Linked DNA regions of Homo sapiens: region 2 is linked to region 1. Evidence: promoter capture Hi-C in human tissues and cell types (Jung and others, 2019). All regions are on one chromosome and are shown on one strand. The core of a region is centred on a gene start or on the middle of the fragment in contact, and the rest is flanking DNA. Distances in the headings are between cores, read along the strand shown.

The links. The method cuts DNA at HindIII sites, captures the fragments that hold promoters and counts their contacts. A contact is called where the count stands out against the background at its distance.
Region 2: a fragment that was not itself captured here is called in contact with the fragment with the promoter of IRX1 in region 1 in 2 of the 25 tissues and cell types used here (H1 embryonic stem cells and spleen).

Annotation. Positions count from the first base shown.
Region 1 is chr5:3,590,677-3,597,610 of GRCh38, forward strand. IRX1 (iroquois homeobox 1) reads left to right here and starts at 5,156. Exons shown (of 4, transcript NM_024337.4): 1 at 5,156-5,705. The coding sequence starts at 5,430. RefSeq lists a silencer at 4,859-5,153. The HindIII fragment of the contact is 23,247 bases long and covers 1-6,934 here.
Region 2 is chr5:3,884,831-3,891,762 of GRCh38, forward strand. No RefSeq gene overlaps it. Among named protein-coding and RNA genes, the nearest start is that of LINC02063, 250 kb to the right of the region's middle. RefSeq lists an enhancer at 5,387-6,021. The HindIII fragment of the contact is 5,833 bases long and covers 1-4,459 here.

The DNA of each region.
Region 1 (6,934 bases), core at 3,906-6,405:
TTTGTCAGACACGCGTTTGCCGGTGTACCCGCGCAGGCAGCTACACCTGTACTGAGAGAATTTACATCGCCTTGCTTCGGGATGGCATTGATTTGGGACGGGTGAAATACAAACACAAACTAATTAAAAACCGCATAATGGAGCCCTACAGGAACAAGGCAGAAAAACAAATAAATACAAGTGCAGCTGGCACGGCGATGGTGCCTCTGCCCCCGAGCAACCGTCTGGTGACATCAAATAAGAAGCCCTGAGAACTCTCACACCGCTGCTGTTGTTCATATTGGAGGCATAATGGAAATGATCTGGTTAATTAAGGGGAGGTTTATAAAATATTTACGTGTGTGCACACGCATGTAATTCACTTCCTTCGACACTGGGGACGGCGTCGTAGCGGCACTCCAGGCCAGGCCACTGCGGTCCATTCCTCTGCCCTGCGTTTGTGGGAAATACGGGCCCAGTGCCGCAGCTTTAGGGCCTGGGTCGCCCTTGGTCCGCCCGCCGCGTTCCCGGGTGGTGTCCCCACGCTGCTGAGGACCTGGTTCCGCGATGCTTGCCGCGGGGGGCACTCCCCGCAGCCTGCGACCGTCCTGCGTCCTTCGCTTCTGGGCGTTTCCTTCTGGGGTTTCCTTGGAGCGGCTCGAGTCGACTCCTCCCGCCTGCCCAACTCAGCTCCGCTCGCCACTGGGTCCCTGCAGCCCTGCACCCTCGGGGCGCTCATTGTAGACTATTCTTGGTCCCCAGGGGCCACCGGTCCCTGCCTGGCGTGGCAGGAAAGCGCAGACTGGACACAGGGGTCGGAGCCTAGGGAACCATCGAGTCGCAGCGGCCGGACCCACCGGGGGTCTCAACAGCTGAGGACTGTCTGACTATTGCCTCAATGTCGCCGACTTGGGTGGCCTCCCAGCTGCTGCTGAGGGACGGTGCGAAGTCCTAGTGCGTTTTTAAGCAGACTCCTAAGTCTGCGCGCGAGTCGGGGCGCGGCGCCAGGTCAGGCCGCCTCCGTCGCCACCGAGCCGCGGCCCAGCGCAGAGCCCCGCCATCTGGAGCTGACAGTGGCCATTGTGAAGGCAGGAGGCCAGGGCCGCGCCACCCGTTGCATCCCGCGGCAGGTCTGTGTCGCCTGGTTCTCGGCGCCAAAGGCTGGTCCCACAGACGGCTTCCGGGAGTGATGCGTCCCCACGAGCATCCTCCTCTTCCTTAGCGACCCCCGGACTGCAGAGCTTCAAGACCAGCGAACTGTTTCCCAAGAAATAAAATTGTAAATTAGGAAGCTGTTGGGTATGTTTAATCTTGTCCTGATGTAAATATGCCCCAGGAGGGTGGGGCAGGGCGGGTGGAATCCTCACCGAGGGTTGGGAGAGAGAAAAGGGAAACGATCTTCTCCAGGAATAAAAAATCCCTCCCATTTAGAAAACTGACTCATAATAATAATGATAACAACAGCAGCACCTTGCAAGTAAACTTTCCATGAAGCCTTAACACCAGCTTAATCAAGTTAGCTTAAACTGCAGTTGCACACCAACGCCCGTCCCCCTCCACTACCGCCTCTGGGCCTTTCCTCTCCTCCCCGCCCAACCCCCACCCCCACAGCCTGCCCCCTGCGCTCCCCGAGACACGCGCGCTCTCTGCCCATGCCGCTGCAGCCGGAGGCCTGCATCTGTCCCAGCCCTGGACGCGCTGAAGGTCCTAGCTTCCCAGCAGGGGTGTCCCAGTCACCCCCCATTGCCGAGCTTCGCGGGGTCTTGCCAGCCTTCTGGGCCACGTGCCTTGGGTCCCCGGAGCACTGGGGCCCAAGGGCTTCCGGACTGGATCCCCGGCGCTAAGCAGGAGGAGCTCCGATTCCGCTGCGCAGCGACCCCTAGACCTGGTTTTGTCAGGCTCCTCGTCTTTGTCTCTGGCACAGTGACCAGGGGGCAGCCACCGGGTGCGGCCAGCTCCGCCAGGAGCAACTTCCGGAGCAGCGGCAGGGCCTGCCTCAGCCACCCCCTTTGGAGGCAGGAAAAGTGGCTGAGGGGCCAACAAAGTGGCTCTCTCCTGCCTCAGAGGTCCAGCGCCTCACAGCTGGGGCGTCGGTTTCGAAGGCCAAGCAGAGGGAACCACACAACCTCCCATTCCAATGTCCATCGCCTTTGCCTGGCACCCCTAGGGCCACCAGAGGGATGGTCCTAGATGCCAGTGATGCTGAGTCCGGGCAGCGGCAGGGGCAGTCTCTTTGAGGGAAAGTTTTAGACCTTCTCACGACATTTTTAAAAGGACGTTCAAATCAGGCCCACGGATTCCAGACGCACAGCCCTTCTGCCTGCTCCAGCATCTGAGGCCATGAAGCCCTGGGCCCCACTGAAACATTTGCTGCTGAAAATGAGTGGCAGAACGAGTGGGAGGAAACTCTACCAGGAGGGGCTGAGCCAGGAGATTCTAGCTCCTTCTCCGCCCCTCCCCCTCTCTGATGGGATGCTTTGGTGGCAATTCTCTCTCTCTTTCTCTCAGTCTACCCTGCTTCCTAGTATCCTAGGTGAAAGTTTTGGGGACAAGGGCCAAGGAGAAAGAAGAGAGGAGGTGAGTCAGGGCCTGCCAGGCTCTGCTAGAGCTTCCTAGAAAGGACTTCCTAGAATTGGTTTTAGGCGAGGGACCTGGAGTGCAGCCTCAGGCCCTGGCCTTGGGCAGAGAATAGACCACAATCTCCCCTTCTGCACCTTTGCAGGGCTCTCCAGGGAGCAAGTTACCCAGCTTTGCTAGTGCCGCTTCCCCAGGAACTGTGCAGTCCTCAGGCAGGATTCACAGGGGAGTCTCCAGGTGGGGCCCAGCCAGGTCCTCCCCACCCAGCTCCTCCCCACCCAGCTCCCTGGTGTTTTGAGGAGCCTGCAATCACTTTGTGATGTGATGCCAATGGAGGTGATGCAGCCGGGGCACAGAGGAGTGGGCTGGTTGAGTTAGGATGAAGCCTCCACTCCCCTATTCCTGCCTCCCCACAGAGCTCTGCCAGCTGCAGAGAGACCTGAGGCTTGCGGGTGGGGTGGGCGGTGGTGCTCAGTGGGTTGGATGGAGGCAGATAAGCTGTAGCTGAATCCCAAGGCTGAGAAGTGTCCCTGGACTTACATCCCACCTCATTCTCCAGGTCACTCAAGAGGGCGTATCTCCCCTGTCAACCTGAAATGTGACACTGTAGTTTGCTGAACAGGACAGGGGTGGGTGGGACTGGCCCACTTCTCACACAGTGAGTCACAGGCAATGGATGGATTTGTTTTGGGTATAGAGGAGAGGAGGTTGAAGATCGGAAATCTGTCTTAGGGTTAGAAGGTGTCTGGTGGTAGGCTGGGGAACAGGAAAAAGCTGCAGTTAGGGGCTTCCCGGATTTGTGTCACCAAGAATCCACTCCCCACCAACCCTCGGCGTCCCCACAAACCCAGCCCGGAATCTATGTAAAAGCAGGAAAGGAACCCTGGAGGTTGTAGGCGGATCCTGGAGTGTGGAGGGGCGAATTGAGCGCGGGAAGCAGCATGACTAGCAAGACAATCTGACTCAGAGCAGGGAAAAATCAAGCCCGATGTCGGAGCTGGTTATTAGTAATTACTACCATCACGGGCATTATTGTTGCTAATTATAGGCGATGTCTCAGTGTCTGTCCTCAGGCCCGGAAAACCGGAGCCCCTCCTGATGCTGCTGAAGTCCCTGGGCCTCGAGGCTCCGTGAAGAGAGGGAAGCGAGGCAGGGGGTGAAGGGACCGCCTGGCCGGTGTCCAGGATACGGGTGGCTCAAACCACCAGCAGAACAGCATGCCGACTCTGGCCCGATGGCCGCCTTCATCCCGTAGCCCCAACCCGGCCTAAAGCCGAGAAGACGCCAGAGTGCGCTGCTGAAATTCCCGCGGAGTCCGGTGTGCTGGAGAGCCGCAGCGGGGTGAACTCCCGGCCCCGTCTCTGCGTAGGAGGTGGTTCGCAAAGTGGCCCCGGGAGCCGGGACTGGTACCCGGTTCCCCACGGCACCGTCCGGAGCTCTCCAGCCACGAGGCGCAGAAGTGGCCTGCCAGCGCCTTCCCAGGCTCAGGGAGGCGAGGAGGCCCGTGCACTTGGCATCTTCTCCCGGGAGCCGCACGGCCAGGGCCGCGGCGAAACGGAGCCCATCTCAAGTGCGCCGCGCCTGGCCGCGTCCTGTAGCCCGACGAGGCTGAGGATGGAGAGGGGAGACGCAGGGAGAAGAGGGACGCGGGACTTGGACCCAAGAGGCCGCTCCGTTGCCGGTCTGGCGGCGGCGCCGACTCGGGTTCGCGCGTTCCACACAAGTTTCCTGTCTGCCTCTGCACACCTGGTGGACAAACCGGGCGTCCAGGCCACACCGTCTTCCCCCTTCGCGGGGGCGCGGGGGATGTTTCCCTCCGGCTGCCAGGGGGCTTTCTGGGTGAAGAGAAAGCCCCTCCCCCCGCGTCTCCCCCACCCCTCCCTCCGAGAACCCGCGGCGCCGACTGCGCCTGCTTCCCCCGAGCTGGCGACTTCTCCGCGGGATTTGCCCTCGCTCAAAGTTTGCACAATTGAAAGAGCCCGCAGAGCTCGGCCGCTCCCCGCTTCCCCAAGGGCGGCGAGGCCGGTCATTGGCAGACGATCGGTTACTACCCAGTAGGGGCCCACGGGAACCCGCATCTGGAGTCGGGGGTGTCACGCCACGCCGGTTCAGTGGCTCGCGGAGAGCGTCCGGGTGCACTTCTGCCAAAGATGTCCCCTGGAGGCCCCGGCCGCGCGGGACTCGGGGGAGAGGCCGCTCCCCCCTCGCTGTCACCAGCGTCCAGGCCGCCGGCCCCTTCCCCGCTGCCCAAACAGTAGAAAAGCAGGCGCCAAGTTGTTTTTGTTAAAAAGGGGACACACCTCGGCCGCGAAACTGCAAACCCGGTGTCAGACAGCTGTAAACCCGTGTCGACAGGTTGTCAGACAGCTGCGGGGGCTGGTCGGGAAGGAGCCCACGGCCTCCGGGCCCACACCCCGCCGCCCCGACGCGCGCGCCCACCGCGAGAGTAGCTGGCCGGGCCGGCACGGGGCACCACGTGCTCGCGGGAGGGGCGGGAGCGGCCGGCGAGGGCGGGCGGGAGGCAGGGAGGGGGCGGGAGGGGAGCCAGGGGCGGGGCCTGCGCTCAAGGGGATGCCAATCAAAGCATCAACTTCAAATTGTGTCTGAAAGCCCCGCCGCCGAGCGGAGGGCGGCCGCCGCAGTCGGCGCGCGATTGCGGATCCGGGCGCAGCCGGGAGCCGGGCGCCTGCGAGCACCGGGCAGAGGAGCCGCGACCGGCCTCCATCTCCCGGCCCGCCCGAGCGCGCCCGGCCGGCCGCCCGCTCCTCCCTAGACCCCTCGCGGCGCCCCCTGCAACCCCCTCCGGCCGGCCTCCGCCTCCCTCCCCGCGCCTTTAATACTCGCCCGCTGCGGCGGTCGCCGAGTCCGCGGACATGTCCTTCCCGCAGCTGGGCTACCCGCAGTACCTGAGCGCCGCGGGGCCGGGCGCCTACGGCGGCGAGCGCCCGGGGGTGCTGGCCGCGGCCGCTGCGGCGGCTGCCGCCGCCTCGTCGGGCCGACCGGGGGCCGCGGAGCTGGGCGGCGGGGCAGGCGCGGCTGCAGTCACCTCGGTGCTGGGCATGTACGCGGCGGCGGGGCCGTACGCGGGCGCGCCCAACTACAGCGCCTTCCTGCCCTACGCCGCGGATCTCAGCCTCTTCTCGCAGATGGTGAGTGCGCCCGGCCTCCCCCGCTTCTCCTCTGTCTCACCCGCGCCAGGGCAAGGGTGGCGGGTCGCCCGGGAGGGAGAGACTACGGGTGGACCTGGTCCGGAAGAGGAACTAGAAAGGTCCGGGGGCAGGTTCCCGGTGGCCGAGGCCGCGGCCCCCGGGGACGCAAGAGGGCTGGGAGGCCGGGCGGGTGACGGCTGGGCCATCTCGGCCTGGGAAAGCGGAAGGCCCGGGCCAGGGAGCGGGTAGCGAGTGAATTCAGAGAGGCCGCAGAAGCAGGCCCGTGGAGCGGTGCCCGCGCTGGAGGTCGGGGGCAAACTCGCCTGGCTCGGCCAGGGCGCCCGGGCAGGCCCACGGGGTTCCTGCAGGTCGGCCCGGCGTAGCGTAGCAGGACTTCCCTTCCTGGCCGCGGGTTCCACTCGCGCGGCCTCTTTAGTTTTCGAACCGAGTCTGGAAAACTTGGTTTTCTCCCTCTTTAGCAGCTCCGAGATAGTTGTATCCGAGTTTGCCAGACAGACCCCTTCTAAGCCTGGTAGAGTCAATCAAAATAATCTTAACAATAGAGGTCCAAAGGGATGGAGAGGTCTCTCCACGGCGTGAGTGCGAATTTGAGATTAAACAAAAATTAAGTTGCAGTAATGTGCTGGTGTCTGAAACGGTGTTTGATTTTACTTTTGTAAGTTGCCCAAGTTTTCATTTCATTTGCACAGAAAGAAAAGCACTTTTCTTCCTGCGTTACATAATGGAGGATTAAAGAAAACAGTGTCCCTTGGCTTAAAACAAATGGTGTCCTCTTAGTCTCCCGTCCCAGTGGGCGTTAGATGTCGGGGCAGGCGGCTGCACACTTAATTCTCCGCGGGGGCATTGGCCTGTCTGCCGGTCCAAATCATCCATTTTCCTTGGTCTGACTGCAAGGTCGGTGCTTAAACTTCGGACGGCTGGTGAATTGTGCGGCGGGCGCGGGGCCCTGGGAGGCAGCCCCCTCCTGGGTCGCTGCCCGCGGGATAAAGCAATTTCCAAGCACCCGCGATATCTCCCCGCTCCCCGCAGGAGAAGCGGGGAGTAAACGCCCCTCAAGTGTGCACAAGCAAAGAGCGGGTTTCCCTGTAACTTTTCTTGTAGTTTTGAAAGAAAGCGGCCCGGCTGCCTTTCAGGTCTCTTACTATCGAAAAAGATCAGCCCCCATTTTGTTCAGGCGGCGGGGAGGCCGGGACGCGATGAGAGATTTA
Region 2 (6,932 bases), core at 293-2,792, 290 kb after region 1:
ACATGGAGGTGTCAGAGGAGTGGTTTCTCCTGAGGCCTCGCACCCTGTCTTCTAGATGGCACCTTCCCCTCATTCCTTTACATACTTTTCCCTCTGCACCTGTCTGTGTCTTCATTTCCCCTTCTAATTAGGACACCAGTTATATCAGATTAGGGTCCATCCAGATGACCTCATTTTAACTTAATTACATCTTTAAAGACCCTATCCCCAAATATAGTCACATTCTGAGGTACTTGGGGTTGGGACTTCTACATAGTAATTGTGGGGACATGATTCAGCCCGTAACACCCTCCTACAAGAGTAAACACGAAGGTTCTGACCACTAAGAGGAACAACTGAATGATGTTTCTGGATAATCCCAATGCAGGCAGCAATTTATTTCTATTAAAAATTAATTGGAGAGCATAGAGGAATGAAACCACACTGTCATGTCAACTTGATGTTCCCTTAGACTAGCACTATTAAACAGATTCAACAGATTTAATAACAGATTGAATAGTGCTAGTCTAAGGATCATCACCAAATCCAACAAAGAAAGGCGTTGGTCATTTTTGCATAGAACATCCAATATCAGAGGGAGACATGAGTGGTAACCATATTATTAATATAGATTATTGATTAGTAACAAAATTCTGAAATTACTTCCAGTGTTTCAGTTGTCAGCTTAGTAATATTTCTGCTGGAGCCTGGATCAAAATAAATATTGCAAGATGAGGAGCTCACAAAATTAAAGAACTCTGTAGGTATTAACTTAATATTTTGCTTTTTCTAAGATTATTATTAAAGTATCCTCTGAGCTAAGGAGCCAACGTGTTCCTGATGATTTGCATGCTATCTCATGGCATCTGTGCTGTGGCTCACAGGGTGGACAGTGGCTCACAGGGTGGACAGTGGCTCACGGGGTGGACAGTGGCTCACGGGGTGGACAGTGGCTCACAGGGTGGACAGTGGCTCACAGGGTGGACAGCAGACAGGCCTTTCTTTACTAAAATGACCACTTCACCCTTAGATAATCAGGCCTCTCATTTCAGGGCTCTAAAAGCGAAACGTGGCTGTGCCCTTCCTCAGTCTCTACAGAGGGAAGACCAGAGCAAAGAGAAATTTCCATCCACAAAATGATGGCTGGTCACATTTAAATGTGAGACTTTGGACGTTCCTGGCTTCTGGGTCAAGATCCAGGACACATGTGATACTGCACAAATAAGACGCGGTAGTTTCATGATAAAATGAAAGGATATGTCTTTGCAGGGCCAGGGGTGTGTTGGGAGCTCCGGAAAGCACTCAGCCTGGCCCAGCCTGCCCAGCTGGGGCAGAGTCATGTTCACTCCCTCAAAACCCAGGGAAGAATAAGCCGGACTCCAAATGCGTTTTTCATAAGTGTTCCCGTGTGACAAGCACAAGTGACATACATATTCCAATGTTGATGCGTTTGGCCTGGGCCCTCTTTTATTTGTTTGACCAGGGAATGAAAGGCTGTTTCTCCTGGGACAGGAACAGCCCGTTGCCTTAGGCGAGGTGGGCTTGGGAGACGGTGAGGGGGTTCGCGCAAGGCCTTCTGCTCCCCCCACACAGGCGATGTCGGCAGTTTATGGGTGAAATGGTGGAGCTGGATGTATTCAGTGCCTAAGGCGTGCAACCCACGGTCCCATTGGCGATTGTCTCCTGTCTCTTTTGTCCCTCACATTTTTTGGTGCCATCATCAGCGATTTCCGGAAATTTGGTAATTCACAAGCTCTGAGTGGGGGCCAGTGATCACCTCCCACCTCATTCTTATTTCTGCCTTCACCGCCTATTCTAAATGTGTATAAAAGGATTCGGTATTTTTTTTTTTCAAAAAGGCTGTTGTACAGATAAAAGGCAGTGAAGAAGAAAACAATTTAAAACACCCCTGTCATTGTGGTTTGGGGTATTTACAGCTGCAGAGAAGGCTGCTTCCTGTCACCGTCTGAATGTATAAACTTAACTTGATCACCTTCTAAAGAATTTATGAATCATGGTTAATAATCAGCTGTAGGCACTTCTGAGGGTAGAATCACATTTTGAAGCTACAAAGGTCCCCTAAATAGCTCCTGGGAAATGACCCTGCATCCCATTAAGTATAAAAATTCACTACTGAGCACTTGATGTCAGAGGTAAACCACTTCAGTCTCAACTCACTTCAAAATGTCAAGGAGCCCCTCCACTTAAACACTTGATTAATCTGGAAGAACCTGACCAGACAGCTCCATCTCAGGAGAAGAAAAAAAAAAAAAAAGAATGTGTGTGTGTGTTTTTTTTCTTGAAGAACCTTTTTCTTTGCATTTAAAACACAAAAACCCTTTCTCTCTTTTCCACTCTTCCTCATGTTCGTTATTTTCTGTCGTTAAAACGGCTTTTATCTGGCTTTTATCTTTTCCATATGCCCATGGCCAACATTGCCTCCTCCTCCCACCGTACAAATCTGCCCAGGTGCAGGCTTTATCTGACTGGTGCCAGCTTCCCATTTTCCTATTTAAATGGATGATGTGAAATCAAAGTCAAATGTCAAGGTCAGGAAGAAGGTTTTTTGGTGCATTGTGATCTAAGACACAAATAGAACTCACCTAATAGAAGAAAGTCATAGAGGGTTCCAGGGCAAAGAAAGAAGAGGCATCCAAAACAAAATACAAATAAATCTGCACCTGTTGTCAATATTTACAACATATGTCTGCAGGAATTTGGACTCCTGATCTGATTTGTTCTTTATTATTATAAATAGTTATACATAATTATTATATGTATTACATATTATGCATAATATACTGACAATACAATGAACAGTGTATATCTTATATTTATTTTATTTTATTTTATTTTATTTTATTTATTTTATTTTATTTTATTTTTTGAGATAGAGTCTCTCTCTGTCGCCCAGGCTGGAGTGCAGTGGCGTGCTCTCAGCTCACTGCAAGCTCCGCCTCCCGGGTTCACGCCATTCTCCTGCCTCAGCCTCCGGAGTAGCTGGGACTACAGGTGCCCGCCACCACGCCTGGCTAATTTTTTTGTATTTTTAGTAGAGATGGGGTTTCACCGTGTTAGCCAGGATGGTCTCGATCTCCTGACCTCGTGATCCACCCAACTCAGCCTCCCAAAGTGCTGGGATTACAGGCGTGAGCCACTGCGCCCGGCCACCTTATATTTATTACAATTAATAAAGGATAATAATCCTTCAGGTATTTGTGATTTAAATTAAACTCGGTCTCCTAGATTTGCCAAAAAAGGCATCTCATTTGGAAAGTGTTAAAGAATCTCTGTAATTCCCATAATTATTACAACCATTGTATATCATGGTATTTCCACGGTAAACAGATCAGTTCCTGACTATTTATCAGATCATTCCAGGAATTATATTGTTCAAAGTTGTCTGGGCATGTGGGTGAAATGAAAATGGGGCAAATGCCAGAAACAGCATTTTTGATTCAGTTGTGTGGTTTATGTCATTTTTAATATAGTAATTTATTTCAGAACTCATAAGTGATAGCTGTGTCTTTGACCCGGAGATTAAATCTGCCATTTCAGGTGAAGTTCTGAGCCTTTGTCCAACATTATCATGTGAGGAGCTTGTGTTGCTCCCCTTGGGGGCAGATGGAGAAAGTTCCCGATGGTTCTTGGGCAGCTCCTCACACCTGCAGAGCTCCAGTCAGCCCATGTAGAGCAATGCCGCCTTGCAACATGAGCCTCAGGAACACGATGTAGGCAGCAAGCTTCCGCCACTGCACCAGCAAGACAGCAGGTCCCCAGGTGCTCCTTGGGGCCAGAGCTTGGCCCTTGTTTTACATCCCAAAGATAAAAACCTCACTTGACGGGAAAGGGCTATGTTATCAGGGACTCAAGAGCCCATCTCCAGGTGTGGGAGAGATTTTGCACAGTGCACCACACATTGGAAGCTGGGTCAAGTTTGCCAGCCAAGGGCTTCTTCCAGCCAGCAGCCTCCCAGCTGTTTTCACACACATCTCTAAAAATCCTGTAGTGAGTAGCTCTCAGTTCAAAGTGTTCTGGAGTTAGCCCTGTCCTGGGTTTGCTGGCAGGGATGAGGACCCTTAGGTGGAGAAATAAGGCTGACACACAGGTTAGCACCCATAAAATGCAGAATCCATCTGGGGGCCCAGAGCCAGCTGCTAAAAGAAGTTGATCTTGGATGTGGACCCTGAGGTGGGGACCCAGAGGCGAGCATCCGTGTGCTGCCAGCTGCTAGACCTTGGGTTCCCTCGGCCTCCTCAGACCCCGGAGGAAGGAAGACCTCACTCTGCTCATTCCACTGCCTGCAGAGCCAGTCCCCACAGTCTGTCCCTGTGAGCAGCTATGGGGGCTGCCCAAATTGTGAATGACTGAAATGAAGCCACCAGCCTGGCCACTGGGTACTGGGTACTTTGCAGACCAGAGATGGCTCGATACCAGGCCATGGTGTCTCTTGGGCTTCGGCCACTCTGGTCTCTGGGATCTGTTGTTTCCACATCCTTCTCTCTTTGCACCCATGCTGGGGCTACAGGTATTAAAAAACTGTGTTCTGTTAGTCTGCAGTGGGTCAAGCTCAAAAATGAAAATGGCTTTTTACAAATCCACCTGTTTGAGCGGATACACGCTGCTGAGATGTGAAGGGTTTGGGACTTTCTGTGTAGTGGCTATGGAATTTTATTAACATGAAAGGACAGAAATCAGGTTTGAGTGTGATTTATGTAGCAGCAGCTGTAGTATTCTTTTCATTGGAGTTTAAATAGGTTATAAAAACGTGATGGGGCACTGAGGTTACCAGTGAGTCATTCTCTGGCTTATTAGCAACAGCACAATTAATAGAGACAGACGACTTTCCCTTGACAAGGGGCTTTTCTGCCCCAGTGAGCATTTAAAAGGCACAATTCTGGCTTTGTAAAATACCAACTTCCACGCAGGGAGGCAGGATGCTGTCCTTGTCCCTGCACTAAAGGGAACCGAAATGTCACCTTCATCATGAAACAAATAATCCATCCTTCTCTCATTAAGATAAAACCCAATGTGGTTGAATTGTAACAGTAGGCTGGAGTGCAAGAAATACGGTCGCACATTTTCACCATCATGATGAGGACCCCTCTCCTGCCACGGTACTGACAATCCTACTGGAACCTCAAAACCTTTCAGCAGCTCCAACAGCCTAGCCACCTCCACCGCTGCAGGCTCTACTCTTGGGATTGCAGCTGCAAGCTTCCTACTGCTCCCCTCTGAGAGAATCACGTGGCACCATCCCAACCTGAGAGGCTCTGAGACCCGGAATGTTCACTGGAAAATGGCTAGAACATACAGGACCACAGAGCTCTGGCACAAGACCTCTGCCTCCATCTGCCATGAGCCAAAACACAGCCTCTGCAGCAATTGGCCCAGAATAGTCAGCACGTAATCAATGACTACCAGTATCCCTCATGTTACCTCCACTTTCAACTCAGGACCAGCCTGAGGAAACCAAATTTGCTCCCCTAACCAATCTCAAAGGATACCTGGCTTCAAGTGCGCCTCCCCCCAGCTTCTCCAGGCCAACAGCCTCCATCAGGGCCCACCTGAGGCTTCCCTTGCCATCAAGAAGCTTCACCACTCCATATGAGTCTCTGCTGAAATGCGAGTGATGGTGGCTGACTCCCCTGCCCTGGCACGCTCTGAGTAAATCCCTCCATTCGTTCCCATGTGGGCTGCCGTTGGGCAGTCATTCAGCAGTGCATGGTAAGCACAGACTGGCTGCTCAGTGCTGCTGTAGGTGCTGGTGCCAAGTGTAGCATCGCTGAGACTCAACTGATCTCGTACCCACTGCTCTTGCACTTCAGGGCAAATTGTACAGAGGCAGCGTCCACCCTGGGGCTGGAATGCTCAGACTCAGGGGTGTTGGTCCGTGGTGTAGATGACAGGCGTGCCTAGTCTGAGCCACCTACCACCATGAGAAATAAGTGCCACCTGGAAAACGAATCGTCCCACCTCCACCCACGACGGACAATGCCAGCCCATGCCGCTCTGTTGTCAGGGTCTTCATGACTTGGACTGGAAGATGTACCATCTCCTGCTTTTGTAATAATGCAGAAAGAAGCCTCTGCCCTATTCCTTCCAGAAGACAGCAGCCGTGCCCTGGAAGGCAGGTAGCCACTAGCCCTTCAGGAGCTTTAGAGGCCGTGCCCTTCAGGTCCTGGGGTGCAGGGCAGGCTACAACCTCCCACTGTTGAGGCCTGCACCACCTCAGGATGTTCACCTCCCTGAGGACATGACCCTAGAATCTACTAGGATCTCCATGCCCTGTGACCTTGCTAGATTGGAAATAAGTCTGTGTTCCTCTGAGAGCAAGGCCTGAGACCATGTTAACATTTTACAGTTGTATTGTGTTGTTGACCCAAATTATTTGAGGCTAACCAAAATCAGGAGTTGTTTTTCTCATGAGGTTCAAGTTCCCAATCTTCGACCTGTGAAGCTCAGTGGGGGGCTTCCTGTTTCCTAACAGCTGCCTGCTGTTGTGTGTTGAGGTCAGCTCTCCACTTCAAGCTGTGAAGCTGCCCCTGGGAGGAGGGGGAGTGGAAGCGAGTCAGCTCCCCTAAAGGACAACGCCTGCAGAAAGGTGTGTGGGGTCCTGGGTGCCACACAACTATGCCAAACTTAAGGGAATGAACTGTGCACACTCTTTAGAAGAGGGACTTATGTTTGCATGCTTTATGTAAAGAACTCATTAAGTCAATATTAGTACACAGTGTCTTAGAGAAAATAAAAATCATATAATGGATTATGTAAAATAGCAGAACTGGGCCACGACCTCACTGCTTGAGTAGTTATGATTTTTGTGAAGATGCTGCATTGACTGAATTTTGACCAACGGGTCATGAATTAAAGTAGGTAATGAGAGCTAGTTCCCTCATTATACCCTGTTCATACCCTATTACTGTAGGTATCATTGATAGAATAATATTCAG